Linked DNA regions of Homo sapiens: all the other regions are linked to region 7. The links are contacts of gene promoters, found by promoter capture Hi-C in blood cells and fetal thymus (Javierre and others, 2016). All regions are on one chromosome and are shown on one strand. The core of a region is centred on a gene start or on the middle of the fragment in contact, and the rest is flanking DNA. Distances in the headings are between cores, read along the strand shown.

Region 1 (3,002 bases), core at 158-2,657, 690 kb after region 7:
CTCGGCCCAAAAGAGGGTAATATGGTTTGGCTGTGTCTCCACCCAAATCTCAACTTGAATTGTTATCTCCCAGAATTCTCAAATGTTGTGGGAGGGACCCAGGGGGAGATAACTGAAACATGGAGGCCGGTCTTTCCCATGCTATTCTCATGATAGTGAATAAGTCTCACGAGATCTGATGGGTTTATCAGAGGTTTCCACTTTTGCTTCTTCCTCATTTTTTCTCTTGCTGCCGCCATGTAAGAGGTGCCTTTTGCCTCCCACCATGATTCTGAGGCTTCCCTAGCCACGTGGAACTGTAAGTCCAAGCAAACCTCTTTTTGTTCCCAGTTTCGGGTATGTCTTTATCAGCAGCATAAAAACAAACTAATACAGAAGGTAACCCAAAAGAAACTTAATTTACTTTGAGGAGTTAAATATCACCTGGTTTTTAAATAATTGACCGAACAGCTCAAAATAGGATTTATTATATTCCTAAATGCTTTTTCTCTGAACTATAAGGGATTCATCAAAGAAACATCTATATTAACACTGTTATCTTGTCTACTCATCAGAAATCAATCACAGCCAATAAGAAAGCAGAACTTCACTTTTTATGAGAATCTATGCCAATTCTTTGGCATACCTAAAACAACAATCCTCTTGTACTGAATGCTTCCGAGGCCAAACGTGGAAGCAGCCCATTTGTGTTTCCCCCACTGTCGAACTCTCAGGTCATAAGCGGCAGCAATGCAGCACCTTGAATAGATGGAGCTGAGCTGTCGGCAAGGAGGAAGGCAGGCATGGGGAAGAAGAGGAGGCAGGCTTTTTTTTTTTTTTTTTTATGAGACAGAGTTTTGCTCTGTCGCCTAGTCTGGAGGGCAGTGGTGCAATCTCGGCTCACTGCAAGCTCTGCCTTCTGGGTTCACGCCATTCTCCTGCCTCAGCCCCCTCCTGAGTAGCTGGGACTACAGGTGCCCACCACCACACCCAGCTAATTTTTTGTATTTTTTTTTTTTTTAGTAGAGACAGGGTTTCACCATGTTAGCCAGGATGGTCTCGATCTCCTGACCTGGTGATCCACCCACCTTGGCCTCCCAAAGTGCTGGGATTACAGGCGTAAGCCACTGCGCCCGGCCGAGGCAGGCTCTCTTAAGGAACTGTTCTGAATAAAGTTTATAAGTAGGCAAATTTTCATTTAAAATGACTTGGACGTTACAAGATTACACCCTTTTTTCCAACCTTCCTTTTCTGAATATCTCCTTTTATTACATTTTTAAAGTTCCTTTCTCCTTTTCAGTAAAAAGGCTCCCATTTCATTAATGCTACCTCCACCCCTATTTCCCTGGATCTAGTCCATCCTTCCCAGCACCCATCAGGTTTTCTGTCCACCAACCTTTTTAATAGCTTTCCATCTCCCCGTTTCCCTTTCCTCCCCACCCATGCTAGTCATCCTTTCCAACCAGACTAGTATTCATTCCCTAAGCACAAGGATGGTTTCATTCAATCTTTCCGTTATCATTTTTTATTTTTTAATAGTAATACATCTAATAATTCAAATTTAAAAGGTGTATTTATGACACCACAATAAAGAGCTTTTCAAAGTTAACCAAAGACTTACAAGGGTATATACTGAAAACTATCTCCCCATCCCTGACCCTAGTTTCCCACACCCCCAGAAGCAACCAACAGCTAAAATATTTCTGAAATGTCTATCTGAATTTTTGATTTCTGAGTTCAAGTAACTAGACATTCCTGTAGTCAGTATCTTGTTTTATCTTTCCATTGTATGTATTTACAAATATCTGTATGTACATCCTCCCCTCTCCTACCTTTCTACACAAATGTTAGAATACTTTATGTGCTTTGAGGTGGACTTTATCTTTAATTTATTCCAGTGATCATTCCATTTGAGTAACTAAAGAGCTCCTTTACCATTCTGTATAGCCACAGGGTACCTCCTTGTATGGATGCACCTTAATTTATACCCTATTTTGTCCATCTACATTGCTTCTAACGTTGTTATCACAGACAATGCTGCAAGTAATGAGCCTGCACATACACCATGTATCATTTATGCAAGTGTATCTGAAGAATAAATTCCCAGAAGCAGAACTGCTCGGTTACAGGATAGTACATGCGTAACTTTGCTAGATGCTGCAATGTCATTATAGGTAGACGCGGTGCCAAGAATGGACTAGCATACCTGTGTCCCTCACATCTTTGCTAAGACAGTTTTATCACCAAACTTTTGGATCACTACCAAGGAAATAACTGAAAAATACTATGACTGGGTGGATTTACACTGCATTTCTTTCCATGATTAAAAATGAACATTTTTTGTTGTACATTTAACGATCGTTTTTATTTCTTTTTCTATAAATTGTTTCCAATTTTGGGGTAGTTGGTCTTTTTCTTATTGTTTATTGGAACTGTTTATATATTAGGGGAATGGGCTTTAAACCTGTAATATGAATTGCAAATCTTTTATTCTCAGTTTGCTAATTTTTAAAAACTTTTTACGATAGAGAGGTGAAGTGTACAGCTCAAGGAATTTTCACAATCTGAACACATCTGCATAGCCAACAGCACAGATTAAGAAGCATAATACTGCCAGTACCCAAACCACCCGAGCCTGCTTCCCATGCTACCTGCCCATCCACATGTAGCCACTGCCCTGTGGCTGGCTCTGCAGGAGTGCATTGCCCAGCTGTATACAAATAGAACTATAGAGTGTGTGTTCTTAGTCAGCTTTACGTCATTCCACATGTTCCTGAGATTCATCCATGTTGTTGCATGTAACTTCACATCACTCATTCTCATTGCAACCTAATATTCCAGGGTATGAATAAACATAATCCATTCTATGGCTGAGGGAGGGGAGGGTGATTCTGCAGTGACTTGGAAACTTCCACTGCTAATGGGAATTTGAGAATTTGGGGCTGATACAACTAGTGCTGCTATAAACATTTTAGTATGTCTTTTGGTGAATACATACGCCCTATTCTGCTGCATATGTACTC
Region 2 (3,178 bases), core at 648-3,147, 750 kb after region 7:
GAAGCCCCTCCGCCCGGCAGCCACACCGTCTGAGAAGTGAGGAGCCCCTCCGCCCGGCAGCCACCCCGTCTGGGAAGTGAGGAGCATCTCCGCCCGGCAGCCACCCCGTCCGGGAGGGAGGTGGGGGTCAGCCCCCCGCCCGGCCAGCCGCCCCGTCCGGAAGGGAGGTGGGGGGGGTCAGCCCCCCGCCCGGCCAGCCGCCCCGTCCGGAAGGGAAGTGGGGGGGTCAGCCCCCCGCCCGGCCAGCCGCCCCGTCCGGGAGGTGAGGGGCGCCTCTGCCCGGCCGCCCCTACTGGGAAGTGAGGAGCCCCTCTGCCCGGCCAGCCGCCCCGTCCGGGAGGGAAGTGGGGGGTGTCAGCCCCCCGCCCTGCCAGCCACCCTGTCTGGGAGGTGAGGGGCGCCTCTGCCCGGCCGCCCCTACTGGGAAGAGAGGAGCCCCTCTGCCCGGCCAGCTGCCCCGTCCGGGAGGGAGGTGGGGGGGTCAGCCCCCCGCCCGGCCAGCCGCCCCGTCCGGGAGGGAGGTGGGGGGGTCAGCCCCCCGCCCGGCCAGCCGCCCCGTCCGGGAGGGAGGTTGGGGGATCAGCCCCCCGCCCGGCCAGCCGCCCCGTCCGGGAGGGAGGTTGGGGGGTCAGCCCCCCGCCCGGCCAGCCGCCCCGTCCGGGAGGGAGGTGGGGGGGTCAGCCCCCCGCCCTGCCAGCCGCCCTGTCCGGGAGGTGAGGGGCGCCTCTGCCCGGCCGCCCCTACTGGGAAGTGAGGAGCCCCTCTGCCCGGCCAGCCGCCCCGACCGGGAGGGAGGTGGGGGGGCCAGCCGCCCCGTCCGGGAGGGAGGTGGGGGGGTCAGCCCCCCGCCCGGCCAGCCGCCCCATCCGGGAGGTGAGGGGTGCCTCTGCCCGGCCGCCCCTACTGGGAAGTGAGGAGCCCCTCTGCCCGGACAGCCGCCCTGTCCGGGAGGGAGGTGGGGGGGGGTCAGCCCCCCGCCCGGCCAGCCGCCCCGTCCAGGAGGGAGGTGGGGGGGTCAGCCGCCCGTCCGGGAGGGAGGTGGGGGGGTCAGCCCCGCGCCCGGCCAGCCGCCCCGTCCGGGAGGTGAGGGGCACCTCTGCCCGGCCGCCCCTACTGGGAAGTGAGGAGCCCCTCTGCCCGGCCAGCCGCCCCGTCCGCGAAGGAGGTGGGGGGGTCAGCCCCCCGCCCGGCCAGCCGCCCCATTCGGGAGGTGAGGGGTGCCTCTGCCCGGCCGCCCCTACTGGGAAGTGAGGAGCCCCTCTGCCCGGACAGCCGCCCCGTCCGGGAGGGAGGTGGGGGGGTCAGCCCCCCGCCCGGCCAGCCGCCCCGTCCGGGAGGGAGGTGGGGGGGTCAGCCCCCCGCCCAGCCAGCCACCCCGTCCGGGAGGTGAGGGGCGCCTCTGCCCGGCCGCCCCTACTGGGAAGTGAGGAGCCCCTCTGCCCAGCCACCACCCCGTCTGGGAGGTGTACTCAACAGCTCATTGAGAACAGGCCATGATGACAATGGTGGTTTTGTGGAATAGAAAGCGGGGAAAGGTGGGGAAAAGATTGAGAAATCGGATGGTTGCCGTGTCTGTGTAGAAAGAAGTAGACATGGGAGACTTTTCATTTTGTTCTATACTAAGAAAAATTCTTCTGCCTTGGGATCCTGTTGATCTGTGACCTTACCCCCAACCCTGTGCTCTCTGAAACATGTGCTGTGTCCACTCAGGGTTGAATGGATTAAGGGTGGTGCAAGATGTGCTTTGTTAAACAGATGCTTGAAGGCAGCATGCTCGTTAAGAGTCATCGCCACTCCCTAATCTCAAGTACCCAGGGACACAAACACTGCAGAAGGCCGCAGGGTCCTCTGCCTAGGAAAACCAGAGACCTTTGTTCACTTGTTTATCTGCTGACCTTCCCTCCACTATTGTCCTATGACCCTGCCAAATCCCCCTCTGGGAGAAACACCCAAGAATGATCAATAAAAAAAAAAAGAAAGAAAAAAAAGTAACTGTAAAAGACCATTTTTAAAAAACATTTCAAAGTTTACATTTTTAAGTAAAACTTCCAGAGCAGAAATATAAACCAAATCATAGTTACCTCTACTCTCTCCTCCACAAACAAAGGTAATCAGAAGGCAAGAGTATTTTCAAATTCATAAATGCTTCTAAAACTCACCTCACAGGCTTTAATGTAAAAATTCTCACATCTTTGGTCGCTATTGCTAGAATATGGAAAGATCTTCCCAAATTTGGAGCGAATGCAATATCATGAACAGGATCAGTGACTGTCATAAGAGTTTCAGCTTTTGCATATTTCCTAATGGAAAAACAATTGACATTAACATTTTAGAAATAAAATGTGCAAAAATCCACACATCACTGCATCTCACCTTTTTTTCACACTGCTCACAATCATGTAGTGCTCACCTCTGTAGTGGGCTCAACAGCAGCCCCCAAAAGAATATGTCCAAGTCCTGACCCCCAGACCCTGTGAATGTGACCTTATTCAAAAATAGCGTCTTTGAAAATGTAATTAAGGACCTCAGAATGACATCCGAGATTTAGGGTGGGTCCTAAATCCAACGTGCAGTAAGTATTCTTTAAAAAGAAGAGAAGAAACGCAGAGACAGAGAGGAGGCAGCCATGTGAACACAGAGGCAGAGATTGGAGTTATGCTGCCACAAGCCAAAGAACTCCCGGAGCCAGCAGGAGCTGGACTAGACCAGGAAGGATTCTAGAGGAAGCACAGCCCCAACACCTTGATTTCAGACTTCCGACCTCCAGAACTGTGAGTGAATACATTTCTGTGTTAAGCCACCTGATTTGTGGTAATTTGTTATGGCAGCCCTAGGAAATTAATACAACCTCCCACGTTTCCTCCTTTAATAATGTACATTTAGCTCGAAACGCTTTAATAAAAATTTAATTACAATAAGGTCTTGGCTGGCCACAGTGGCTCACACCTGTAATCCCAGCATTTTGAGAGGCTGAGGTGGGAGAATTGCTTGAACCCAGTAGTTCAAGACCAGCCTGCGCAACACAGCAAGACCCCATCTTTACAAAAAATACAGAAATAGCTGGGCATGGTGGTGCACACCCATTGTCCCAGCTACTCAGGAGGCTGAGGTGGGAGGATGGCTTGAGCCCAGGAGGCGGAGGTTGCAGTGAGCTGAGATTACGCCACTGCACTCCAGC
Region 3 (3,135 bases), core at 14-2,513, 600 kb after region 7:
CAGTGTCGCTCTTGGGTGCACAAGAGTACACCGGGCATGAGGTTTAGAAAACAGCTTCAGTATTTCAAAGCCCTTTTCCTGGATATAACTGATAACACAAATAGTGTATGTTCTTAAATATATCTATATAGAGCAAAGGTGTGTATGTGTATCTCTATATGTTTTTATTTAAAGTCTGGGTTATTTTCCCCAAATGCATTACATTTGTTTTACCATGTCAAAGATAATGTACTTTTTAAAAAAAATCTAACCTGGCCCATGGCATTAGCTACAATTTTCTCTTGCATGTTGGTGGTCAATACTTGGATAAATATAGTACCATTTGCCTATTTAAGAGGCTTTATAACTTATGAATTAGTAAAAATAATAAAATAGCCCCAAAAAAATCTCTGGAAGAACTCATTATTAATAAATTTCATCACAGAATATAGAATTGTTCTATATTAACCTGAAAATTTAAGTATATTGTGATTAAAAATATATCATCTGCTTTAGATTTACAGATACACTGAATAAAATGGAATGCAATTTAGAAAGAACCACAACATTTAATACAGCTATAGAACACTCCCAGCAAGATGGATATATTTTAAAAAGTACTTTGTAATACTATTATTGAGAACTAATTTAATCTCTACACACACACACACACACACACACACACGGGAAAAGGTAGCAGGAAAGTCCTCTGAACCCAGTGGGGAGGTCTAGTTCAGATCCTCTCTCTAGCTAATGATAGATGTAATTGCAAAGGCACGCAGAGCAGAAATGCATCTAGGGAGCAGAGAGGCCATCAGGCTGTGCACACTCAGCCCCCAACTCCCTGCAGGCCCCATCTACATGGAAAGGGCTTAGTGGAACCTACAAATTCTAGCAACCACACTTCCTTCCTTCCTTTCAAAACATTTTTTTTTTTCAGACGGATTCTCGCTCTGTCGCCCAAGCTGGAGTGCAGTGGCACGATCTCAGCTCACTGCAACCTCTGTTTCCCTGGTTCAAGCCATTCTCCTGCCTCAACCTCCTGAGTAGCTGGGACTACAGGCATATGCCACCAGGCCCGGCTACTTTGTTTTTTTGAGACGGTGTCTCGCTCTTTTGCCAGGCTGGAGTGCAGTGGCACGATCTCGGCTCACTGCAACCTGTGCCTCCCAAGTTCAAGCGATTCTTCTGCCTCAGCCTCCTGAGTAGCTAGGATTACAGACATGCGCCACCTTGCCCAGCTAATTTTTGTATTTTTAGTAGAGACGGGGTTTCACCATGTTGGCCAGGATGGTCTTGATCTCTTGACCTCGTGATTCACCCGCCTCCGCCTCCCAAAGTGCTGGGATTACAGGCATGAGCCACCGCGCCTGGCCTGCTTTTTGCATTTTTAGTAGAGACAGGGTTTCACATGTTGGCCAGGCTGATCTTGAACTCCTGACCTCAGATGACCCGCCCGTCTTGGCCTCCCAAAATGTTGGGATCACAGGCATGGGCCACCATGCCCGGCCCAAAACATTTTTTTAAAGGAACAGTTTCCACAGAAAAAAAGCCAGTACACTAGCACATACAAGGTACCACCATTATCAAAGAAACTGAAAAAGGTAATAAAATTTGTTCCCACACATGGGTGAGAAGTCACTGCAGCTCAATGATAACTCTATTCCTTGGCTTGTCACTTTTCTAGGAACTGTCCTTCTCTCCCAAATGACATGCAGGGTCTGCCAGGATTGTGCACCTTGCACTGTGCAAGGACATGAGGGCACAGTTGAGGTGGAACCTATTAGCTACAACACCTCAGCTGGGGTTAGATGGTCATAAAATAATAGGTTAAGAGAAAGATGCTTTTGGGGACTAAGTAGAAACATAAATTCTTTTAAAAAAGATATAAGAAAGAGATGATCTCTCAGAACCCTCAAAAAAGAACCTTTACAAGAAAACCTGTTAGTAATGTTTCCTTTTCCCTATAACCTTACTTATAATCTATCATACATTCGTGTTCACCCACCTCTGCACTGAGCAAAACCCCTGTACCTTCTTGGGGGAACTCTTCTGCCTCCTTAAGCTAGAATCAGCTTACAGCCTGTAAGGAGCAGCCACTTTCCTGTGCTAGTGCTGGAGCTTTCGGAGAGCAGCCCCACCAGGCCTTCCGGTGGCCTTGGAAAAAGTGCATATTTGTAAGTAATCATCTCCTGTACCCTACAGATGACTACAATCCTATTATTGCTTTGGAAATGTGTAGTTAATGGTGTCATAGAGCACACAGTGATCTAACAAATGAAAAATGTGATTAACTAAAGGCTGGGAATTGCTTCTCAGGGCTTTAAGAACACAGATTTTGTTGCACTGCCAAGGCAAGCTAACTGCTGCTCTCATCTGGCAATTATGTATTGTGAACCTTTGTCTAAAGTCACAGTGTCTCGTGTCTGGGACAAATACAATAGCACACAATGCCGTAAGTCCCCATGACTTCAGTTCTGTGGTAAGAACTGTCACTGGGGTTCCTGTGGTATCTGCCTCTACTGTCCTGCTGCTTCTCCAAGGTCAACACAGGTCATTCTCTGTTACAAAGGAGCCAGTGTTTCCACCTTTCTTTGCGTAAAATAAAGTTTCCTATAACCCAGAGTTTAGTTCATTTAGTTAAACAGATCACAGAATTAGTGCTTTATACACATGATTTTCTTACTCATACTTTACCAAATTTACAATGAACTGCTGCTATTAAAGCTATTGCTGAAATCAGTACTATTATGCATTTACCCTGTAGTCCTATAGTGATAGTTAATATCGATGCAGACTTTCTGGAAACTCACCATAATCAGAATAACTTAAGTGTCCGCCACTAATAGAGTATAAAATTATTTCATTCAAATTTATCTTCAAAGCATTAAAGTTTTAAAAGATTTAAATATGTTCAGAGTATAAACTATGCACCTTGCAATACTATTTTAAATGCTAACTTAATTGAACTGTCCAAATTTTGCTTAATTTAAAAATATTTTCTCACGTTTCTAAGTTCCTTCAGATGCCATTAATGTGACACAGGCTGCACAGGAATGCAGGGCTGTAATTTATGACTCTTAATTTCAAGCACTGGAGCGGCAAGTCTACAAGTTAACGTCCACAAAAATGTCTACTTTTACATGACCAGCAAGG
Region 4 (2,900 bases), core at 42-2,541, 520 kb after region 7:
CATGGATAAATGCCACAAAAACTTATTTGAATGACAGAATTCAGGCTCAAAAGAATAGTAACATATGGTTTTATTTGTGTGATGTTCCAAAACAGGAGAAGCTAACCGATGATGATAGAAGTTAGATCCATGGTCACTCAGGATGGTAGTGGGTGGGAAGGGGCAAGAGAGCCCTTGGGGGAGAGGGAAATGATCTGTCTTCATCTAGTGTGGTTGCAGGGGTATATGCATATGTAAAAATTCATTAGCTTTATGCTAGTGAATTCATTAGCTGTGTGTAAACGTCATACACATTTATATTATAACACCACATTTTTAAGGTTTTGCAAAAAGGGAACTCTTGGATGTGGGAGGACTTTGTAAGGCGGGGTCACTCAGCAGCAGAGCCAGCTCTCTCAGGCGGGGAAAAGCAGAGAGGCAGTCTGCCCACTGGATTAGACTCCCCAGACACCTCGCAGGCCTCCTCCCTCCACAGGAAAGGGCTCAGCTCACTCCCCTGGGCTGAATGAAGTGCCGCTGAGGAGTGCCTGAAGCTCATTGCCTGCAGACACTCACGCTGCACTGAGGCTTTAAACAGCTCATTTCCACTCCATTCCTTGACACGCCTTTGGAAGCTGCCTTTGGCATTCTTTTTTTTTTTTTTTAATTATACTTTAAGTTCTAGGGTACATGTGCACAAAACGCAGGTTTGTTACATATGTATACATGTGCCACGTTGGTGTGCTGCACCAGTTAACTCATTATTTACATTAGGTATATCTCCTTATGCTATCCCTCCCCACTCCTCCTCCCCCACGACAGGCCCCGGTGTGTGATGTTCCCCACCCTGTGTCCAAGTGTTCTCATTGTTCAGTTCCCACCTATGAGTGAGAACATGCAGTGTTTGGTTTTCTGTCCTTGCGATAGTTTGCTCAGAATGATGCTTTCCAGTTTCATTCATGTCCCTACAAAGGACATGAACTCATCATTTTTTATGGCTGCATAGTATTCCATGGTGTATATGTGCCACATTTTCTTCATCCAGTCTATCATTGATGGACATTTGGGTTTGTTCCAAGTCTTTGCTATTGTGAATAGTGCCGCTATAAATATACATGTGCATGTGTCTTTATAGCAGCATGATTTATAATCCTTTGGGTATATGCCCAGTAATGGGATTGCTGAGTCAAATGGTATTTCTAGTTCTAGATCCTTGAGGAATTGCCACACTGTCTTCCACAATGGTAGTTCAACCATTTACACTCCCACCAACAGTGTAAAAGCATTCCTATTTCTCCACATCCTCTCCAGCACCTGTTGTTTCCCGACTTTTTAATGATCGCCATTCTAACTGGTGTGAGATGGTATCTCATTGTGGTTTTGATTTGCATTTCTCTGATGGCCAGTGATGATGAGCATTTTTTTCATGTGTCTGTTGGCTGCATAAGTGTCTTCTTTTGAGAAGTGTCTGTTCATATCCTTTGCCCACTTGTTGATGGGGTTGTTTGTTTCTTTCTTGTAAATTTGTTTAAGTTCTTTGTAGATTCTACATATTAGCCCTTTGTCAGATGGGTAGATTGTAAAAATTTTCTCCCATTCTGTAGGTTGCCTGTTCACTCTGATGGTAGTTTCTTTTGCTGTGCTGAAGCTCTTTAGTTAATTAGATCCCATTTGTCAATTTTGCCTTTTGTTGCCATTGCTTTTGGTGTTTTAGTTATGAAGTCCTTGCCCATGCCTATGTCCTGAATGGTATTGCCTAGGTTTTCTTCTAGGGTTTTTATGGTTTTAGGTCTAACATTTAAGTATTTAATCCATCTTGAATTAATTTTTGTATAAGATGTAAGGAAGGGATCCAGTTTCAGCCTTCTACATATGGCTAGCCAGTTTTCCTAGCACCATTTATTAAATAGGAAATCCTTTCCCCATTTCTTGTTTTTGTCAGGTTTGTCAAAGGCTCTATTCTGTTCCATTGGTCTATATCTCTGTTTTGGTACCATTACCATGCTGTTTTGGTTACTATAGCCTTGTAGTATAATTTGAAGCCGGGTAGCATGATGCTTCCAGCTTTGCTCTTTTGGCTTAGGATTGTCTTGGCAATGTGGGCTCTTTTTTGGTTCCATATGAACTTTAAAGTAGTTTTTTCCAATTCTGTGAAGAAAGTCATTGGTAGCTTGATGGGGATGGCATTGAATCTCTAAATTACCTTGGGCATTATGGCCATTTTCACAGTATTGATTCTTCCTATCCATGAGCATGGAATGTTCTTCCATTTGTTTGTGTCCTCTTTTATTTCATTGAGCAGTGGTTTGTAGTTCTCCTTGAAGAGGTCCTTCACATCCCTTGGTAAGTTGGATTCCTAGGTAATAATACCATACATCTACAACCATCTGATCTTTGGCATTCTTTAACCTCATTCCACCTGGAAAGGTGGGGACGCATAGTGAGACTTTAGGCCTGGGTCACAGATTCTGCCTCAGGAATTTCTCTGCTCTGTCCAGTTCAGCCTGCAAGACTTAAGAACCTCATGTTTCGTTTAAAGTTTGAATTATTTGTTGGGCAGTCCGTTAGATGGCAATGATTAAATTAAATGCTTGAAGTAAAAAGGGTAAAGTGCTGTTGGTAGGAGTGTACGTTAGTTCAGCCATCGTGGAAGACAGTGTGGCGATTCCTCAAAGACCTAAAGACAGAAATACCATTCAACCCAGCAATCCCATTACTGGACATATACACAAAGGAGTATAAATCATTCTATTATAAAGGCACATACATATGTATGTTCATTGCAGCACCATTCATAATAGCAAAGACATGGAGTCAACCTAAATACCCATCAATAGTAGGCTGGACAAAGAAAATGTGGTACATATACACCACAGAATACTGTGCAGCTGTAAAAAATGAGATCATGTCCTTTGCAGGAT
Region 5 (3,092 bases), core at 307-2,806, 580 kb after region 7:
GCAGATCCTTCATGAATGGCTTGGTGTCATTTTTGCGATAATGAGTTCTTGCTCTGTTAGTTCCTGTGGGAGCTAGTTGTTAACTAGAACCTGCACCACGCCCCCCTTGCCCTCTTGCTTCCTCTCTCACCATGTGATCTCTGCACATGCTGACTGCTCTTCACCTTCTGCTATGAGTAGATGCAGCCTGAGGCCCTCACCAGATGCAGATGCCCAGCTTTGCACTTTCCAGCCATCCAGAATTGTGAATCGAATAAACCTTTTCTCTTTATAAATTACCCAACCTCAACCTCAGGTATTCCTTCATAGCCACAAAAAATGGACTAAAACATTCACCATTTTTATTCCCAGCAGCAATGCAGGTTTCCAATTTCTCCATATCCTCAGCAAAACTTTTTTTTTTTTTAGTTTTTTTTTTTATTTTTATTTTGTATAGTGATCATCCTAATGGGCATGAGATGATATCCCACTGTGGTTTTGATTTGCATTTCCCTGGTGATTAATGATGATGTTGCACATCTTTTCATACGTTTGTGGGCAATTTGTGTATCTTATTTGGAGAAATGTCTATTAAAGTCTTTTATCTAGTTTTTAATCAGCATGTTTGTTTTTTTGTTGTTGTTGAGTTGTAGGAGTTCTTTATAAATTCTGGATATTAACGTGTTATCAGATAAATGACTGGCAAATGTGTTCTTTCATTCTGTGGGTTGCCTTTTCACCATGTTGACTGTTTCCTTTGTCACACAGAAGTTTTTAAGTTTGACATAGTCCCATTTGTCTATTTTCTGTTTTGGTGTGACAGTCAAGAAATCAACGCCAATTCCAATGCCATAAAGCTTTTTCCCCTTTCCTTTCAGGGTTTTACAGTTTGGGATCTTACATTTAGGATTTTGTCCATTTTGAGGTAACTTTTGTATATGGTATAAGGTAAGAGCCCAAATTCATTCTTTTGCATGTGGATATCCTGTTTCCCCAACAACATTTGTTGAGGAGATTATCTTTCCTCACTGTGTAGCCTTGTCAAAGATTATTTGACAATATATGTGAGGGTTTATTTCTGGACTCTATTCTGTCTTTATGCCAGTATCATACTGTTTTGATCACTATAGCTTTGCAATATGTTTTGAAATCAGAATGTGTAAGGCCTCCAGTTTTTTTTTTCCCTACAAGATTGCTTTGGCTATTTGGGGTCCTTTGAGATTTTGAGGATGGACCTGTAAGTAGAATCAGATGTCACTCCTTTGATCATGTCACATTTTATAGCAAAAGAGGGATCATCAAGGGTGGGTCTGACCTATTCAGATGAGCCCTTTGAAGCCTGGAGTTTGATGCACTCTGCTGGTCTGGAAGAAAGCAAGCCCAGTCAGCTCTTCATATCCACGGTTCCACATGCATGGATTAAACCAACTACTTACCAAAAATACAGTATTTGTGGAATGCAGAACCCGCAGATCTGGAGAGTGGATGCTGCCTCTTCCTACCCACGGGTTCTGCAGGGCCGACTGCAGGTCAGGAGAACCTGCTGATTTTGCTATCTGCACAGGTCCCAGGAACCCAGGACCAATCCCCCACAGATACCAACCAGGAAAGGACGCATCTATGTTGTGATCTGCTGAAGAAGCTGGGAAACCTCTAGGAGGAGACAGGGACTCCTGGCTGATGGCCAAGAAGAAATTGAATGCTGCCAAATACTGAATGAGTTTGGAAGAGGATTCCAAGCTGCAGATGAGAATGTAGCTGACTGACACCTCGATTTCAGCCTCCTGAGACCATGAGCAGAGAATCCGCCAGGCAGTGCTGGCTTCTGACCTACAGAACTGTGAGAAAAAGGCAGGCATTATTTTCAGCCACTGAGTTTGTGGTAGTTTTGAAACCTGACCAATTGTCCCATAAAACTGATGTTTATCATTTCTTTTGAATAAACATAGAAATTGACCCTCTCAGTCTTAAAACTTGAGAAAGTTACATTTGTCTTATCTGAGTTCCTTTCTCAGGAAACCGACCATCAGGACTCCCAGGTAGTATCAAGGAGCTGAAACTTACAAGCTCACAGCCTCTGGAGGATGAGTGGCCAGGCCCTCAACCCTCATGATTGCCTGAGCACCACCTGCTGCCTGTTGACCAACTCCTCTTCCTCATTCTTCCCTAATTACTGTTTTCCTGCATGTAGTTACATTTCTTCCCTTCTATATAAACTCCCAATTTTAGATAGTCAGAGAGACGGACTTGAGACTGAATTCCCATCTCTTCAGCTGCAGCACCCGATTAAAGCTTTCTTCCCTGCCAATACTGGTTGTCTTGATGACTGGCTTTCTGTGCTGTGAGCAGCAGGACCTAGACCAAACCCCTGGTGTTTGGGTAATCATTTGTTATGCAACAATAGAAAACTAATATAGGGGATGCAAACACAATATGCATTTGTTTATCTGTATACACTCCTCTGTCCTCTGCTAGATTTTTTTTTTTTTTTTTGGCAGGATCTTGCTGTCACCCAGACTGGATGGAGTTCAGTGGTGTGATCCTGGTTCATTGCAGCCTCCACATCCTGTATTCAATTGATACTCCTATCCCAGCCTCCCAAGTAGCTGGGACTACAGGCATGCACCACTGGGCCAGGCTAATTTTTGTATTTTTTGTAGAGATGGAGTTTTGCCGTGTTGCCCAGGTTGATCTCAAACTCCTGGCCTCAAGCAATCCACCCGCCTTGGCCTCCTGATGTGCTAGGATTACAGGCGTGAGCCACCATGCTCAGCCTCCATTTCTAATAAGAGTAAATCTGCTTTGCATACTGGTGGGCAATTTGGCTTTTCACTCAATAATATAGCTTACATTTTTATATCACAACACAAAGCTACTCATTCTATTTTACATGTGTGCGGTGTTGAGTTGCATGAACCAAGATGCGTGTCATCTGTCCTCCAAAAGCAGCACTGAGGTCACTTCTGTTGTGTTATCTGTGCATGCCATGCTGCAGTGAAGCTCCTGGAAGTCATGCCTGTATGCCCTGTGTGTTTACACAGGAGGGACTCTAAAAAGGGAGCTCTGACTGTGTTTGTCTGTTGGAAGCTGAACTTCCAGGTTCCACTCCGTTC
Region 6 (2,798 bases), core at 143-2,642, 530 kb after region 7:
CAATGCATTTACCATTTATCCTGTTGATGACATTTAGGTGTTACAATTTTTGGTCTTTTACGTTACTGCAATGAACATCCTTGTACCTGTCTCTTTGTACACAGGTGTGAGAGTTTTTCTTAGTGTCTGCATTAGAATGGGATTTCTGTGTCTTAGGGTATTTTCATCTTGAATTTTTGTTGCATTTTTAAAGCATAACTTTGATGAAATTAAATTTGTAGTGGCCATTTGTGTGCAGTATGCAAACCTTTCCTACCAGCCACCCCATCTCCATGTTGGACCATCTTCCCTTGTGCTTCCTGCTAGAGATCTTTTCCTCCTACCCCATTCAACAGGGGACAACTTGTAAGTAGGCTGGGCCACTGAGATGTTCTGCAGGGCTTAAGAGAGTGGTTTAAAGAAGTGGGAATTACCGGAAGTCAAATTCACCCAAAGGGATGCCCAAGCTGGAGTCGGTATGCTATGTGCCCTCCCTCCAGAGAACACATAGCGCCTGCTTGGGTTCCAGCCCTTGTTCTTACCCTGCCATTGAGCACATGTGCCTACAAGCACCCTTCCTTCCTGGGAGACCTGGAGTCAGATCCTGTTGTTCATGCAGAAGTACTCTGATGGATTGTGGGGAAAAGCAGAAGAGGGCAGGAAGAAAGCAGAATGAGGGAGGGGTAAGGATACAGAGGAGAGGAAAGAGAGAAAAGGATGACAGAGCTTTCACTCTTTTGTTTATTTTTTAATTCAGAGAGCAAACTTCCCCAAGTAAGCAGAAAAAGTGTCTCTTCAGCAATACTAGTAAGGCTTTGCTGGGAAAATTTTAAGACATGTAAAAGAATAATAAAAAACACATAACAATTACAGTGTACTACTTACTAAAATAACGGGCAATGTAGCTTATTTGGAAAAAAAAAAGTTTGTTGTCTCTGGTTATAGGTGTTTTTCCCAAACAAATACCAATATTATAATACCTTTTACGTAAAACTTAATGCTTTTTCTTTTACCTCCTATTTTAATTTGCTTTTTTGATCCTGTAAGTGAAAGGAGAAAGATCTCTGGTTTAAACAAAAAAAAAAAAGACAGGCCAGGCACAGTGGCTCATGCCTGTAATCCCGGCACTTTGGGAGGCTGAGGCGGGTGGATCACCTGAGGTCAGGAGTTCAAGACCAGCCTGGCCAACATGGTGGAATCCCATCTCTACTAAAAATTAGCTTGGCATGGTGGCGGGCACCTGTAATCTCAGCTACTCAGGAGGCTGAGGCAAGAGAATCTCTTGAACCGGGGAGGCAGACATTGCAGCAAGCTGAGATCGCACCGCTGCCAGGCATGGTGGTGAGCACCTGTAATCTCAGCAACTCAGGAGGCTGAGGCAGGAGAATCACTTGAACTGGGGAGGCAGAGGTTGCAGTGAGTTCAGATCGCACCACTGCACTCCAGCCTGGGTGCCAAGAAAAAGGAGTCCGTCTCAAAAAAAAAAAAAAAAGACAAAATATGTTAACATGTAATATAAAAAACAAATTATGTAAAGAAATGTAGAGGAGACTTTTTTCCTTATAGAAACCAGGCGGTTGTTATGTGCTTTGCTGCATAAAAAATTGCCCTATAACTAGGTTAATCAACTTATTAATTTTATTAATAAAATGAGATTTTATTATTTTTTTAAAAACCACTTTATTTGTGCACATTTTTGTGGGTCAAGAATTTGGGAAGTCTGAGCGGGGCAGTTGGTCTCGATGCACATGGCACCAGCGAGGGTGAGGGTGCCAGGATCTATTTGTGAGATGGTTTCTTCCCTCACTTTTCGGCACCCTGGGCTCCTCAGCCTGCCTCCCTTCAAGGCAGCTTATCCTCTGCGGCTTCCCCACAGGCCTTGGGCTTCTCGCTGCAGAGCCTTCTCAGGATATTTGCACTCCTTTCTCCTGGCACCGGGCTTCAGGCCAGTGAAGGGCCCCGCCTGGCACTGGCCCAGCATCACCCTGGAATGTGACCCCCTGCCACATTCTAGGGGGTGGAGAGATAGACTCCACCTCTCCATGAGAAAGCAGCAAGTTCACATTGCAAATGAGCACGGGAGACACAGATATCATTCCAGCAGACTTTAGAAATACACACAGACACATTGTGAAATAATGTTTGCTTTTTATTACTTGGAATCGTCTTGGGGTAAAGAGATCCTCAACTAGAAAAACTAAAGGTTTTTTTATTTAATAATGTTTACCTTTTTTACATAACTTTCCTTTGAAATTAGGAAAATCAAGCATGCTCATGTTAACAAGTGAGACTACCCAAAGATATACATTTTTAAAGTTAACGCAATATCCCCAGCCCTCATTCAATTCCCCTTCCCTGATGTACCCAATGTGTCCCTCCACACACGTTCATATATGTGTCCCTCCACACACGTTCATACAAATTGAAACGCTTGTACATGCAGATGTTTGTTGGCTGTTGTTTTCAGTGGGATAATTGTATGCATCTCACTCTGCCACTTGCTAATCACTTACTAGACCACGAGCAATCTTCCCAGCATGAGTCTAACTCATTTTGTTAGGAATACATAATATTCCATAGTTAGATAGAACTACAATTTATCCAACCATTCCCTTTGTAGCAGAGATTTTTCACAGTTCATCAATATCCTGTTACCCTTCCGAGCATGCATGCCTTGAAGTCTAGCATAACCAGGGCTTCATTCTCATCACTTTGCAGTGCAAGCCTTAGGGCCTGCTTCCTCCAGCTGTGGCAAGAGTGAACATGCATCCCGGGAGAGACCCTCCGCCTGGCCTCCCAAGGGCAATTTGTGCAGCTCT
Region 7 (2,842 bases), core at 229-2,728:
AGTTTATTCACAATAGTCAAGATATGGAATCAACCTAAGCGTTCATCAACAGATGAATAAAGATAATGTAGCATATATACACAATGGAATATTAGTCATTAAAAAGAATGAAATCCTGTCATTTGCAACAACATGGATGAAACCGGATGTCATTATGTTAACTGAAATAAGCCAGGCACATGAAGACAATATCATGTTGTTACTCATGTGGGAGCTAAAAATGTGGACCTGATGGAGGTAAAGAGTGGATTGGTGGTTACCACAGACTGGGAAGGGTAGCAGGAAGAGGAGCGGGATGAAGAAGAGAAATTGGTTAATGGGTACAAAAAACCCCAGAAGAAATAAAATCTAGTGCCTGATAGTACAGTGGGGTGGACACAGTTAACAATAACTTATTGTGTAGTTCAAAATAGCTAAAAGAAAAATTGGAATGTTCCCAACATAAAGATAAATGTTTGAGATGACAAATATCCCAATTGCCCTGATTTAGTCGTTACACATTGTATGCATGTATCAAAGTATCACCTGCACCTGCAAATATGTGCAACTTCTATGTATCAATTTAACAAATTGGGGGAAAAAAAACCCAAACCAAACTCAAAGTGGAATAATGAAAACACTCCATAGGGAAGAGAGCTGTCCCTCAGAATCTTCAAGAAACCTTCGAAAGGTGGTCGACTGACATGGAGATGGACACGCGATAAATAACCACACGAACATTTCGACCCGGCTTTCCAGTCACACCTCCGAAGCAAGCTATGTCTCTGCGTCATTTCAGCTCCTCAGGGTACGAGCGAGCAGGCCGCCAGGGCCGCCGGGATAAAGCCCAAGCGGGATAAGCTCTAAGTCCCGACCCGCCCGCTTGACCCTCTACCACGGGGCCCGAGAGGACGCACAGAGGCGAGAAGGGACTTCTCCAGCCAAGTTCACCCCCTCCGTCATTAGCGCGGCCTGTTACTCAACCTCTGGTTCAGGTTTCCGAAGCGCCGCTGAAGACAAACCTGCGGACCCCACGCCCCTCCCCAGCACGGCCCTGGGGCGCGAGCTGGAGCAGCTCTTCGAGCTGCTTCTCCCACCCGGGCTCGCCCAGTCTGGAGGAGGAACAGCGCCCGCCCACCCCAAGGAGTTCCCATTTTCCTTGGGACTGAGGACACAAGGCAATAGACCCACGCGTTGGGTAGTGAAGCACAGGGCTAATGCGAAGTGAGCCCATGTCAGGGGTGGGAGTGCCAGTTCCACCCCTCCACGGCGGCCGAGGGACAAACACAAAGAAAGGAAGGGCCGGAGTTCCAGCCGTCACACTCACCAGCACAGCCAAACGCGATTCTGTTTGCGGAAACGGCGGCCCGCGCCACGCGTGTCTGCTTACGTCACTTCCGGAGGTGCGAGAGTCACGTGGAGACGGTCAGGCGAGAGTGCCGCGACGCACGTCCTCCGCGCCGGAACTACGAGTCCCGACGTGCCGCGCGCGGCATGCAGAAGCTTCACTGAGCGGGCACTGGAGGTCGCGAGCACGTTGCTAGTGGGCGCGGCTGGCGGGGCCGGGGGCGGCAGGGGGCTAGCGTCCGGCTGAGCCCGGCGGGTTCCTGCACGCGGACCCACGCTTTGTCGGGCTGCTCTGCTGAGTGACACCGCCGTGGCATCCGAGGAGCTGTGGTCCAGCCTGCGCGGCGGGAAGCGGCGGCGGCGGCTCCAGCGTCCTAAGAGGTAGCATGGGCCCAGGCCTCTGTGGGGCAGCGGGAGGGGTCTAGAGGGCACCTTCAACCCTGGGCGTGTGTCCGGGAGCTGACTCGCGGCGCGAACCCGGCAACTGCTCCGCGTGCGCCGCTCTTCGGGCTGTGGCAGTGTACGACTGCCAGACGGGTCGTCCACACTCGCCGACCCCACAGACCCCGGCGGCCGAGAGAGGTCCCCCCGCCCTTCCGGGTCGAGCCAGTGTCCTGGCAAATCTTGCTTTGGGACTGTTTTTCAGCCTCCTTTGCTGTAACCCTTCACCGTGTTCTCCCCCCTTCTTCCGAAGCCAGTTGAAGAGGGGCCCGGAAGCGCCCGCGTTCGGAATGGTTTTTAAAATTAGCAATTTCTTATTAGGGACTGGCAGACTGGTCCTTACCGCCGTGTTTGGGAAGCCACAAGAGGCCATTCTTACCTGTTAGATTCTGAGAAAAGGGACCGCCTATACCTCTTCTTGACAAATACCTAAGGATGCATTAGTCTGCGTTGGCTGAACTTGGCATGGTGTGGTTTGGGGGAGACAACACACTTTTTTTGGCCATCACCCCAGATTTCTACTGGGGAGTGAAAGCGCCTACTGTACTGAAACTCGAAAGCTCCATAGTTGAGGACTTTCAACCTGAGATCAGGGTCAAAACTACCTGTGGATAGATTATTGAAGCGTGTGCATATTAACGTCGTGCGTCAAGTCCCCACCTTCCAAGGTTGTAAAACTGATCAGATTTACAATCCGTCTTGAATTACTCTTTACCAAAATTGATCCATTTAAAACAGCTTTGAAAATGTGCTTTACCAGCCTTCCTTCTTGTCAGTAGGCACAGGTATATTAATGAATAGACCTGGCTTTGGGGAAGGCAGCATTTGCAGCGTTGTGCTTTCCAATCTAATCACTTCTAAATTGTGGGCATTAGCCCATTTGAGGTTACAAACTTTGAACCAAGAATGAGGCCTATTTTTCACAAATAAGGATGACCCATCAATTTCTGATGACTGCTTGTATTTGTTATTATATGAAATGAGGTAAGTTGAGAATTAATCTCATTACATGAATATTGACAACTGCAAAAGTGTAGGTCTTACAGATCGAATGCATTATAGGCATATACAAGCA

The links. Contacts are between HindIII fragments. The CHiCAGO score rates a contact against its expected background, and 5 or more counts as called.
Region 1: a contact is called between a fragment that was not itself captured here and the fragment with the promoter of FAM210A in region 7, in 2 of 17 cell types (total CD4 T cells and naive B cells). The highest score is 5.4, in total CD4 T cells.
Region 2: a contact is called between a fragment that was not itself captured here and the fragment with the promoter of FAM210A in region 7, in 2 of 17 cell types (naive B cells and total CD4 T cells). The highest score is 5.7, in naive B cells.
Region 3: a fragment that was not itself captured here is called in contact with the fragment with the promoter of FAM210A in region 7 in 2 of 17 cell types (M0 macrophages and monocytes); the score reaches 6.0 in M0 macrophages.
Region 4: a fragment that was not itself captured here is called in contact with the fragment with the promoter of FAM210A in region 7 in 12 of 17 cell types (naive CD4 T cells, non-activated CD4 T cells, total CD4 T cells and 9 more); the score reaches 16.8 in naive CD4 T cells.
Region 5: a contact is called between a fragment that was not itself captured here and the fragment with the promoter of FAM210A in region 7, in 4 of 17 cell types (monocytes, naive CD8 T cells, non-activated CD4 T cells and 1 more). The highest score is 7.7, in monocytes.
Region 6: a fragment that was not itself captured here is called in contact with the fragment with the promoter of FAM210A in region 7 in 1 of 17 cell types (non-activated CD4 T cells); the score reaches 5.1 in non-activated CD4 T cells.

Annotation. Positions count from the first base shown.
Region 1 is chr18:13,032,642-13,035,643 of GRCh38, reverse strand. The region is part of intron 11 of CEP192 (centrosomal protein 192); the gene reads right to left. Among named protein-coding and RNA genes, the nearest start is that of CEP192, 43 kb to the right of the region's middle. The HindIII fragment of the contact is 5,250 bases long and covers 1-3,002 here.
Region 2 is chr18:12,977,874-12,981,051 of GRCh38, reverse strand. SEH1L (SEH1 like nucleoporin) reads right to left here. Exons shown (of 9, transcript NM_001013437.2): 6 at 2,160-2,300. Among named protein-coding and RNA genes, the nearest start is that of CEP192, 12 kb to the left of the region's middle. The HindIII fragment of the contact is 8,388 bases long and covers 1-3,178 here.
Region 3 is chr18:13,120,362-13,123,496 of GRCh38, reverse strand. The region is part of intron 44 of CEP192 (centrosomal protein 192); the gene reads right to left. Among named protein-coding and RNA genes, the nearest start is that of LDLRAD4, 97 kb to the left of the region's middle. The HindIII fragment of the contact is 4,916 bases long and covers 1-3,135 here.
Region 4 is chr18:13,209,254-13,212,153 of GRCh38, reverse strand. All of the region lies in intron 1 of LOC124904255 (a long non-coding RNA gene), which reads left to right. Among named protein-coding and RNA genes, the nearest start is that of LDLRAD4, 8.1 kb to the left of the region's middle. The HindIII fragment of the contact is 7,533 bases long and covers 1-2,900 here.
Region 5 is chr18:13,142,852-13,145,943 of GRCh38, reverse strand. No RefSeq gene overlaps it. Among named protein-coding and RNA genes, the nearest start is that of LDLRAD4, 74 kb to the left of the region's middle. The HindIII fragment of the contact is 1,435 bases long and covers 839-2,273 here.
Region 6 is chr18:13,191,139-13,193,936 of GRCh38, reverse strand. No RefSeq gene overlaps it. Among named protein-coding and RNA genes, the nearest start is that of LDLRAD4, 26 kb to the left of the region's middle. The HindIII fragment of the contact is 6,980 bases long and covers 1-2,798 here.
Region 7 is chr18:13,725,194-13,728,035 of GRCh38, reverse strand. FAM210A (family with sequence similarity 210 member A) reads left to right here and starts at 1,478. Exons shown (of 4, transcript NM_152352.4): 1 at 1,478-1,707. RNMT (RNA guanine-7 methyltransferase) reads right to left here and starts at 1,363. Exons shown (of 12, transcript NM_003799.3): 1 at 1,307-1,363. RefSeq lists an enhancer at 1,375-2,300. The HindIII fragment of the contact is 3,253 bases long and covers 1-1,484 here.